3 separate regions of the Homo sapiens genome follow, and all the other regions are linked to region 1. The links are contacts of gene promoters, found by promoter capture Hi-C in human tissues and cell types (Jung and others, 2019). All regions are on one chromosome and are shown on one strand. The core of a region is centred on a gene start or on the middle of the fragment in contact, and the rest is flanking DNA. Distances in the headings are between cores, read along the strand shown. Region 1 holds the start of TST (thiosulfate sulfurtransferase). Region 2 has its middle 11 kb from the start of NCF4-AS1. Region 3 has its middle 9.0 kb from the start of RAC2.

What was found. Contacts are between HindIII fragments. The study calls those that stand out against the background at their distance.
Region 2: a fragment that was not itself captured here is called in contact with the fragment with the promoter of TST in region 1 in 1 of the 25 tissues and cell types used here (spleen).
Region 3: a fragment that was not itself captured here is called in contact with the fragment with the promoter of TST in region 1 in 1 of the 25 tissues and cell types used here (lymphoblastoid cells).

What each region holds. Positions count from the first base shown.
Region 1 is chr22:37,017,966-37,020,975 of GRCh38, forward strand. It overlaps TST (thiosulfate sulfurtransferase), which reads right to left and starts at 1,482. Exons shown (of 3, transcript NM_003312.6): 1 at 1,435-1,482; 2 at 173-788. The coding sequence starts at 767. MPST (mercaptopyruvate sulfurtransferase) reads left to right here and starts at 1,777. Exons shown (of 3, transcript NM_021126.8): 1 at 1,777-1,907. The coding sequence starts at 1,872. RefSeq lists enhancers at 25-1,000, 1,029-1,530 and silencers at 1,004-1,063, 1,224-1,613, 1,644-1,763, 1,774-2,093. The HindIII fragment of the contact is 8,246 bases long and covers 1-3,010 here.
Region 2 is chr22:36,880,261-36,883,109 of GRCh38, forward strand. No RefSeq gene overlaps it. Among named protein-coding and RNA genes, the nearest start is that of NCF4-AS1, 11 kb to the left of the region's middle. The HindIII fragment of the contact is 9,229 bases long and covers 1-2,849 here.
Region 3 is chr22:37,251,692-37,254,919 of GRCh38, forward strand. No RefSeq gene overlaps it. Among named protein-coding and RNA genes, the nearest start is that of RAC2, 9.0 kb to the left of the region's middle. RefSeq lists an enhancer at 1,616-2,117. The HindIII fragment of the contact is 6,144 bases long and covers 1-3,228 here.

The DNA.
Region 1 (3,010 bases), core at 232-2,731:
AAAAGCCTTTAGGTTTGTCTCCACTTTCTGGTTTTATCGATGGAAAGACTGAGGCCTACATGGGAGGATTGAAGGCATGGGACGGACCCTGGAGAGGGTCCCAGTCATCCTTACTCCCTATCCTTCCATGGGGCAATACTCCCCAGGGACCACCCAGCACTGGGACACCTACCTACTGCATCCGGCTCCGGCTCGGTGCCCAGGAACCGCCCTTGAGACCTTGAATCCACCAGCTGGAACCTCTTAGATTCAAGGTTCTCCAGCACCTGCTCGTAGGTCTTGAGCAGGGAGCGGTCCAGTGTGGCTTTGAAGACGGCCGGTTCTGGGCGTGAGGGCTCGGATGTCACCGGGTGGCCCTCCTTCAGCCAGTTCCGGAAGCCACCATTGAGCACTGATACGGTGCGGTGGCCAAACACACGGAACATCCACCAGACCCGGGGAGCATAGAAGCTGCCCAGGTGTTCACCATCATACACCACCACGTGCGTGTGGTTGCTGATGCCCAGGCGGCCCACATACTCGGCGAAGCCAGCCTCGCTGGGCAGCATCATCTCGTAGGGCGACGCCGTGTCCCGGCACTCTTCTATGTCAAAGAAAGAGGCGCCGGGTACGTGGCGCTCGAGGTACTCCTTGCGGGCCTCTCGGGTGCCTGGTGAGTACCAGGACGCGTCCAGCACCCGCAGGCCGGGCCCCAGCTTGCCAGTCCTGATGGACTCCGCCAGCCACTTGGTGGAGACCAGCGCCCGGTAGAGCACCTGATGAACCATGGCTTCAGCTCTGCGTGTCACCTGGCACGGGTGGGAACCAGGAAAGAGAGACAGGCGTGAGGAAGGAAGTCGGTGTGTGCAGTAGGGTGAGGCCTGGGAGAAGCTCTTTCTCCCTCCGCACTCCCCCGGGTTCCTTGTTTACAGCAAGCCAGCGAGGCTGGGGCGTGCAGCGGGATAAGTTTGCAGATTCCCTCTGGAAAGCCGGCCCCGCCCCTCCCAGCCGGCCCGGGGGCCCAGCGCAGAAGCGGGTGGGGCAAGAGTTTCCGAGGACTCCAAGTAGGGGCGCTTCCTGGGGCGGGGATCTGGCTCCTAGAAGTTACAGTACTCGATCCCGCCAGGAAAGAGCAATGAAAGCATGCCCGGGATGGGGGGCGATGGCATCTTGGGCTTAGAATCCCCTTTCCTTCCAAGGCAGAGGGGGTGGGCGCACGGCTAGGAAGCTCCGCGAGCCGCGCACACGCCATCGCCTGCGGCCTCCCCAGGCAGCCCGAGCTCGCCCGCCTCCAGAGTGCCCGAGTCCGGCCCGTAGCTCGCTGCCCTCTGCCCTAGGTGGATCAGGGGTTCCCGGGGCACCCCGTCCCACTCTCGCAACGCTATCCTTCCCCGGGCAGCAGGTGGCCCGACCGGCGGCCCAGGCGCCCGGCCGCTGCCCCCGCCCCGCACTCACTCGCCCCGGACGCCGCGCTGGCGCTCGCCCCGGCCGGCTGGAGAAGTTGGCCGGTTCAAACCCCCGGCCGCAGCTCCCCAGGCGGCGCGCACCATCGCGCCACCGCCAGAGGGGGACCCTGCGCCGCCCGCCGCCATCCCGCGCCTCCCCCGCGCGGCCGCTTCGCGCCCGGCACCTGCCAACCTCGCGCGCGGGGCCTCCGGGACCCGCGGGGGTCTGAGGGGGACGCCGGGTGGCGCGGGGGCCGCGCGGGCCTGGGCTGGGCGGAGCGGGCGTACCCCCACGGCCCGGCCAGTGGAAGGCGCGGGCAGCAGCGGCTCCGAGTGGCCGCGGCGGTGGGCTGTGCCGGAGTCTCCTCCCTTTGGTCCGCTGCAGGTTGGTGGCGGGAGGAGGGGACAGCTGCGGGCGCGGGGAGGGGGCGCCGCGCCGCGGGGGCCATGGCGGAGCCAGGAAGCCGGGAGTCCGAGACCCGGGTAACTGCCGCGGCGTGGCGGCTTGCCTTTCTGGAGGGGGAGGGAGTGGCTCTTTGGGGGTGCTCGGCGCGGGGCTCCCGCGCGGGACCTGGGCGGAAGAGGGGGCTTAGTCTAGGAGAGAAGGCGCGCCGCTACGTTGGCACTAAGGGTGACTGTCCGCTTGGGGCGGCCTGCCGGGTGGGGTCGTGGCGAGTGGCGGGTGGGGAGCCTTGGGTGGAAGTGGGTGACCTGGTGGCACCAGAGAGGGCGGGGGAGAGAGAGGAGGACAGGGAGACGAGACCCCGCTGACCCAGAGGCCCCAGGAAGAGACACTAGCCAATAACTTGTTAGTGAGTGAAAGGAACTAACATTGTCCAGCCCTGCTTGGTGTGGCACTTTGCTGGGTACTCCCGTGGTGTGACTTAATTCCCACAATAACCCTGAGGAGTAGGCCAGAAACTTACTAAGACAGGAGAGAGCGGCAGAGCGAGTTGCTGGAGGACACACCCAGAGTTGAGGCCGGGCCTGATCCCTGGTCTGAAGCCCACGTGGTACCAGCTGCCTTTGTTTACCTGGCTCTTCCCTGAAGGTTCATGCTTTTTAAAAAATTGCCTGTTTTGAACTTAGCCCGTTTAATCATAAGTTGATGTAATTCAATTTTTAATAATAGCTGTATTTAACAACCAGTTGGCAAAATTCCTGAAAAGCTCGCCATGGGCTCTTGCAAACTGGGGGACACCATTGCCCCTCCCTAGCTTTTGCAGAGGCCAGCCTGGAAGCTTTCCCTGTTTCCCAACCCTGACCTTTTGTTTTGTTTTGTTTTTTGAGACAGGCTGTGGTTCTGTGGCCCAGACTGGAGTGCAGTGGCGCCATCTCAGCTCACTGCAACCTCCGCCTCCCAGGCTCAAGCGATCCTCCCACCTTAGCCTCCCAAGTAGGTGGGACCACAGGCATGTGCCACCATTCCCGGCTAATTTTTAAATTTTTGGTAGAGATGGGGTTTCACCATGTTGTCCAGGCTGGTCTTGAACTCCTGGGCTCAAGTGATCTGCCCATCTCAGCCTCCCAAAGTGCTGAGATTACAGGCATGAGCCACCATCCCTGGCCTCATCCCTCTTTTTAAA
Region 2 (2,849 bases), core at 172-2,671, 140 kb before region 1:
CCAATCTAATTGAGGGGGCTTCAGCACAACTTTTCACCAATAGGTGGTTTATGCAGACCCAGGTGCAACCTCTAGGAAACCAGGATAAGAGAGAAAAAAAAAAAAAAAAACACAAGAGGAAAAAATACGAGCGGGGGCATCATAAGCTACACATTGTAGGGGAAACGGCCCTCACAAAATTAGTTCAGTGAAGCCACTAAACAAGTAAACAGATAACAAACCAAATAACAAAAACATTAAGCCCTAGAGGGAATAGGAGAGCAGCATCTAGAGTTGCTTCAAAATATAATCTAAAATGTTCAGTTCCTGATATGGTTTGGATCTGTGTCCCTGCCCAAATCTAATGTCTAATTATAATCCCCAGGTTGAAAGTGGACCCTTATGGGAGGTGGTTGGATCATGGGGGTGGATTCTCATAAATAGTTTAGTGCCATTCCCTCCGTGCTGTTCTTGCGATGGTGAGTGAGATCTGGCCATTTAAAAGTATGTGGCACCTCCTCTTTCTCTCTCTCTTCCCCTGCTCTTGCCATTTAAAACTTGCCCGCTTCCCCTTCATCTTCCACCATCATTGTAAGGTTTCCTGAGGCCTCCTCAGAAGCAGAAGCCACTAGGCTTCTTGTATAGCCTGTAGAACCAAGAGCTAACTAAACCTCTTTTCCTTATAAATTATGCAGTCTCAGGTGTTTTTTTGTTTTTTTGTTTGTTTTTTGTTGTTGTTGTTGTTGTTGTTGTTGTTTTGAGACTGAGTCTTGCTCTTGTTGTCCAGGCTGGAGTGCAGTGGCATGATCTCGGCTCACTGCAACCTCTGCCTCCCAGGTTCAAGTGATTCCCCTGCCTCAGCCTCCTGCGTAGCTGGGATTACAGGCACCCCCAACCTTGCCCAGCTAATTTTTGTACTTTCAGTAGAGATGGGGTTTTGCCATGCTGGCCAGGCTAGTCGCGAACTCCTGACCTCAGGTGATCCACCTGCCTCGGCTTCCCAGAGTGCTGAGATTACAGTCATGAACCACTGCACCCAGCTGGTATTTCTTTATAGCAGTGCAAGAACAGGCAAATATAGTTCCCAACAAAAAATTATAAGAATTGCAAAGACACAGCAAAGTGTAATCCATACACAGGAGGCAAATAAAAGCAGGCAAAGGAAACTAAAAAAATTGCCTTTGAGGGAAGGATTCAGATGCTGGACTTAGCAAACAATGACTTTATATTAGGAATATGTTTAAATAACTAAAGGAAACCATGTTTAAAGAATTAAAAGAAAGTATTGTAACAATGACTCTTCAAATAGAGAATATCAATACAAAGACATAAATAATTTTTTAAAAGAGAACCAAATTGAAATTCTAGAGTTGAAAAGAACAATAACTGAAATGAAAAGTCCACTAGAAAGGCTCAGCAGTAGATTTGAGTTGGCAAAAGAATGTTAGCAGAGAAAGTATAAGCAAACTGAGAGATAGATCAATAGAGATGATGCAATCTTAAGAAAGAAATAAAGAAAAAGGAGTGAAGAAAAATGAGCAGAGCATCAGAGAAATGTGGGACCCATGAAGTGTACCAACATATGCATAATGAGATTACCAGAAAGAGAGGAGAGAAGGAGACAGAAAAAGGATGAAAAGAAATAATGATTGGAAACTTTCCAATTTTTATTTTTTAAAAAACCACCAATCTACATATCCAAAAAGCTCAACAAACTCCAAGTAGTAAAATACAAAGAAAGCCACACTTAAACACATCATAGTCAAAATGTTGAAAGCCAGACATAAAGAGAAAATCTTGAAAGCAGAAAGAGAAAAATGACTCACCGCATAAAAGGGAACTACATTAAGACTAACAGCTGATTTCCTGTCAACCAAGAATCTTACATAAAACAAATCTACCACTCAAAAATGAAGGTGAAATTAAAACATTCCAAAATAAGCAAAAACTGAGAATATTCATTGTTAAGCAGACTTGCCATTACAAAAAAATATTAAAGGAAGTTCACTCTAATGGCTTCATTTTAACTTGATTAGCTCTGTAAAGACTCTATTTTTTTTTTTTTTTTTTTGAGATGGCGTTTCACTCTTGTTACCCAGACTGGAGTGCAATGGTGTGATCTCAGCTCACTGCAACCTCTGCCTCCTGGGTTCCAGCAATTCCCCTGCCTCAGCCTCCTGAGTAGCTGGGATTACAGGCGTGCACCACCACGCCTGGTTAATTTTGTATTTTTAGTAGAGATGGGGTTTCTCCATGTTGGTCAGGCTGGTCTTCAACTCCCGACCTCAGGTGATCCACATGCCCCAGCCTCCCAAAGTGCTGGGATTATAGGTGTGAGCCACTGCACCCAGCTAAGACTCTATCTCATGTAAGATCACTGCATTCTGAGATACTGGGGTTAGAAATTCAACATATCTTTTGGGGGAGAATACAATTTGAACCACAACAGTACACTAGAAAATATCCATTTAAGAAAAATTTTAAAAGACCTTGCAAGGTGTGATCTCCCAAACCCAGTTATTTGGCTTCTAGTTTGTTGCCTGACCACATTCACCAAGAAAATTTTCTGCCACAAAACAACCAGACCTCAGCTAGGACACAGGCTTTGAGGAATTATGAGCCTCACAAGAAGCAAAGGAGTTCTCCAATGATTCTTCCACTCCCCACCAAAAAAACTATGATAGGAGCTGAAACCAGAATACAGAGCAGTTGGGGTGTTGTTTTCTGGAGTGCAGAGGCAGTCCAGAAGGCAGAGCCATGGGGAGGCCATGAGATAGGGAGGCTGCGCCAGGGGCTTCCGTGCCAGGCCAAGGCCCTAGATGTGAGAGCTGAGGTGATCTGGAGAGAGTGGCATTCCTGGCTTCAAGCAG
Region 3 (3,228 bases), core at 355-2,854, 230 kb after region 1:
GGCCCTACTTCCACTGTTGGGGATTACAATTTGACATGAGATTTAGATGGGGACACAGATCCAAATCATATCACATGTCAAGAGTCTATAAGTGCATGAGTCTTTTCCTAGCCTCTCCATCTATTGGACTCTTGGTCCACCCTCAAGCCGGTAAAACACTGCCTCAATTACTGCAGTTCTTTTTTTTTTTTTTTTTTGAGACGGAGTTTCACTCCTGTTGCCCAGACTGGAGTGCGACGGCACCATCTCGGCTCACTGCATCCTCCACCTCCCAGGTTCAAGTGATTCTCCTGCCTCAGCATCCAAATAGCTGAGATTACAGGCGCCTGCCACCACATGTAGCTAATTTTGTATTTTTAGTAGAGACAGGGTTTCACATGTTGGCCAAGCTGGTCTTGAACTCCTGACCTCAGGTGATCTGCCCGCCTTGACCTCCCAAAGTGCTGGTATGACTTACAGGCGTGAGCCACTGCACCCAGCCAACTACTGAAGTTCTATATCAGATCTTTATACCCAGCAGAGCAAATCATCCACTCTTGAATGTTTTCAAAATTGTTATCGTTACCACTGACACTTTGCTCTTTCATATAAAGTTCATAATAAGCTTGTCAAGTTCCAAGAAAAACTGTGTGAGGATTCTGATTAGAATTGTATTCAATTTCTAGAGGAACTTGGGGAGAAGTGACATCTTTATATATTGAGTCTTCCTGTCCATTAACATGGTATATTGCTTCTTTATATCTTTCAATTAAGTTTTATAATTTCCCCCCGGAAAGGTCATGCACATTTTTTGAAAGATTCATTCCTTGATACCTTATTACTTTCAGTGCCATTATAACTAATATTTTTTAAATTGAATTTTCTATTTGTTGCCCATACGTAGGGAAAATGTCACATTTTGTATATTGAACTTATATAGAAACCTGGATGGAAATTCTCATTCTAATTTATGTAAAGATTTTGCTCCTAACAAGTCTACAGCTGTCTTTATAGACAGTCTTATCATTTATGAAAAGTGACAGTTTTATTTCTTCCTTCCCAATTTTTATAACGTTAATTCCTTGGCTTGTCTAGATCTTTTATTACAGGGCTGAAGGGAATCAGTGCTGGCAGGCAACCTTGTCTTATTTCTGATTTTAAAGAGACTGTTTCTAATGTTTCACCATTGAACCTGATGTCTACTGCAGGCTTTTGGTGGATATTATTGTCACTGAAAGAAGTTTCCCTACTATTCTTAGAAACGGCAGTTTTGTTTTATCATTATTAAGCGTTTAATTTGATTGAATGTCTTTTTCTGTACCCATGGAAATGTTGTGAATTATATTAATACATTTTCTGATGTCCAATTCTCCTTGCATTCCCAGATAAGTCTAATTTAGTTAATATGGGGACTATTGCTGAGTATCCCTAAGCAACCGTTCTCTGCTTCTTTTTAATAACAGAGATCCCAGCATTGGGGCTAGCCACACATTCACCCAGCTAAAGACATTTCTCAGTCTCCCTTGCAGCAGAGTGGGCCCTATGATCATGTCTGGGGGAAAAAGGTGCAAATGGAAGTGATGTCAGCAACTTCTGCATCATCTCCTTGGAAGCTAAACCATTTATCCTGTACAGCATTTTCCCCTCTCCCCACGGAGTAGGAAATAAAAACGCCAGAACAATCCTGGAACCATGTGGGGGCAACATAGAGCCAGACCACTCAGCTCGAGACCTGAGAGAGAAATACACTTTTGCTTCTTTAAGCCACTGCGTTTTCAGATCTTTTTGTTACAGCAGCTTCAGTCACACCCTCACTCAGTCAGTCATGATGCATCGCCTTTTGTGTATTGCTGGCTTGAAATTGCCAATATTTACAGGTAGGGTGGGGAGATCGGCCGGTCATTTTCCTTATATTGTCTTTGTCTTTTTTTGTTGTTGTTGTTATCAAGGTTATACTAGTTTCATTATGAGAGTTGGTAATATTATGTTTTGTTTTTTTTTTTGAGATGGAGTCTTGCTTTGTCACCCAGGTGGAGTGCAGTGGCACGATCTCGGCTCACTGCAACCTCCACCTCCCAGGTTCACACCATTCTCCATTCTCCTGCCCCAGTCTCCCGAGTTGCTGGGATTACAGGCGCCCACCACCACGCCTGGCTAATTTTTTGTATTTTTAGTAGAGACAGGGTTTCACCGTGTTAGCCAGGATGGTCTCGATCTCCTGACCTCGTGATCTGCCCGCCTCGGCCTCCCAAAGTGCTGGGATTACAGGCGTGAGCCACCGCGCCCAGCCAGTTTGGATAATATTACATTATCTCTCCCTTAAATATTTTATAAAATTTATAAAGCCATCTGTATCTGGACCTGGTTTCAGAATTATGGGGGAGAGGGGGAAGAGGGGTAGATTTTAAACTACTAATTCAATTTCTTTAAGGGGTATAGGACTATTTGGAATTCCTTTTTTTTTTTTTTTTTTTTGAGACAGAGTCTTACTCTGTCACCTAGGCTGGAGTGCAGTGGTGTGATCTCAGCTCTCTGCCACCTCCACCTCCTGGGTTCCAGTGATTCTCATGCCTCAGCCTCGCAAGTAGCTGGGACTACAGGCAGGCACCACTAGGCCCGGCTAATTTTTTATTTTTAGTAGAGATGAGGTTTCACCATATTGGTCAAGATGGTCTCCTGAGCTCAAGCAATCTGCCCACCTTGACCTCCCAAAGTGCTGGGATTATAGGCATGAACCACCGCGCCCGGCCACTATTACTTCTTGAGTCATGCTTTAGATATTTTTCTGGAAAGTTGCCCATTTTGCTTGGGTTTTCAAATTCATTAGTGTAAAGCTATTCATAGTATTATTTTATATCTTTTGAATCTCTCCTCTCTAATTTCTGTTATCTCCCTTTTTTTATCCTATATTGATTATTTATGCCTTCAAACTTTGTTCTTAATCAATTGCTCCCCAGTTTCATTAATTTTACTCACCTTTTCAAAGAGCCAAATTTTGGTCTTGTTAATCCTTTCTACTATACATTTGTTTCCCATTTAATTAATTTCTATTCTTATCTTTATTGTTTCTTTTCTTTCTTTTGCTTTGTTCTGATGTTCTTACTTTACTTCTTAGTTTTGAATGCTTAGTTCATGAATTTTTAGTCTTATTTTGTTCCTAATACAAGTTCTTAAGGCAATACTACTTTAGCATTGCTTTTAATTGTGGTAAAATAGACATAACATAAAATTTACCACAACCCACAGTTT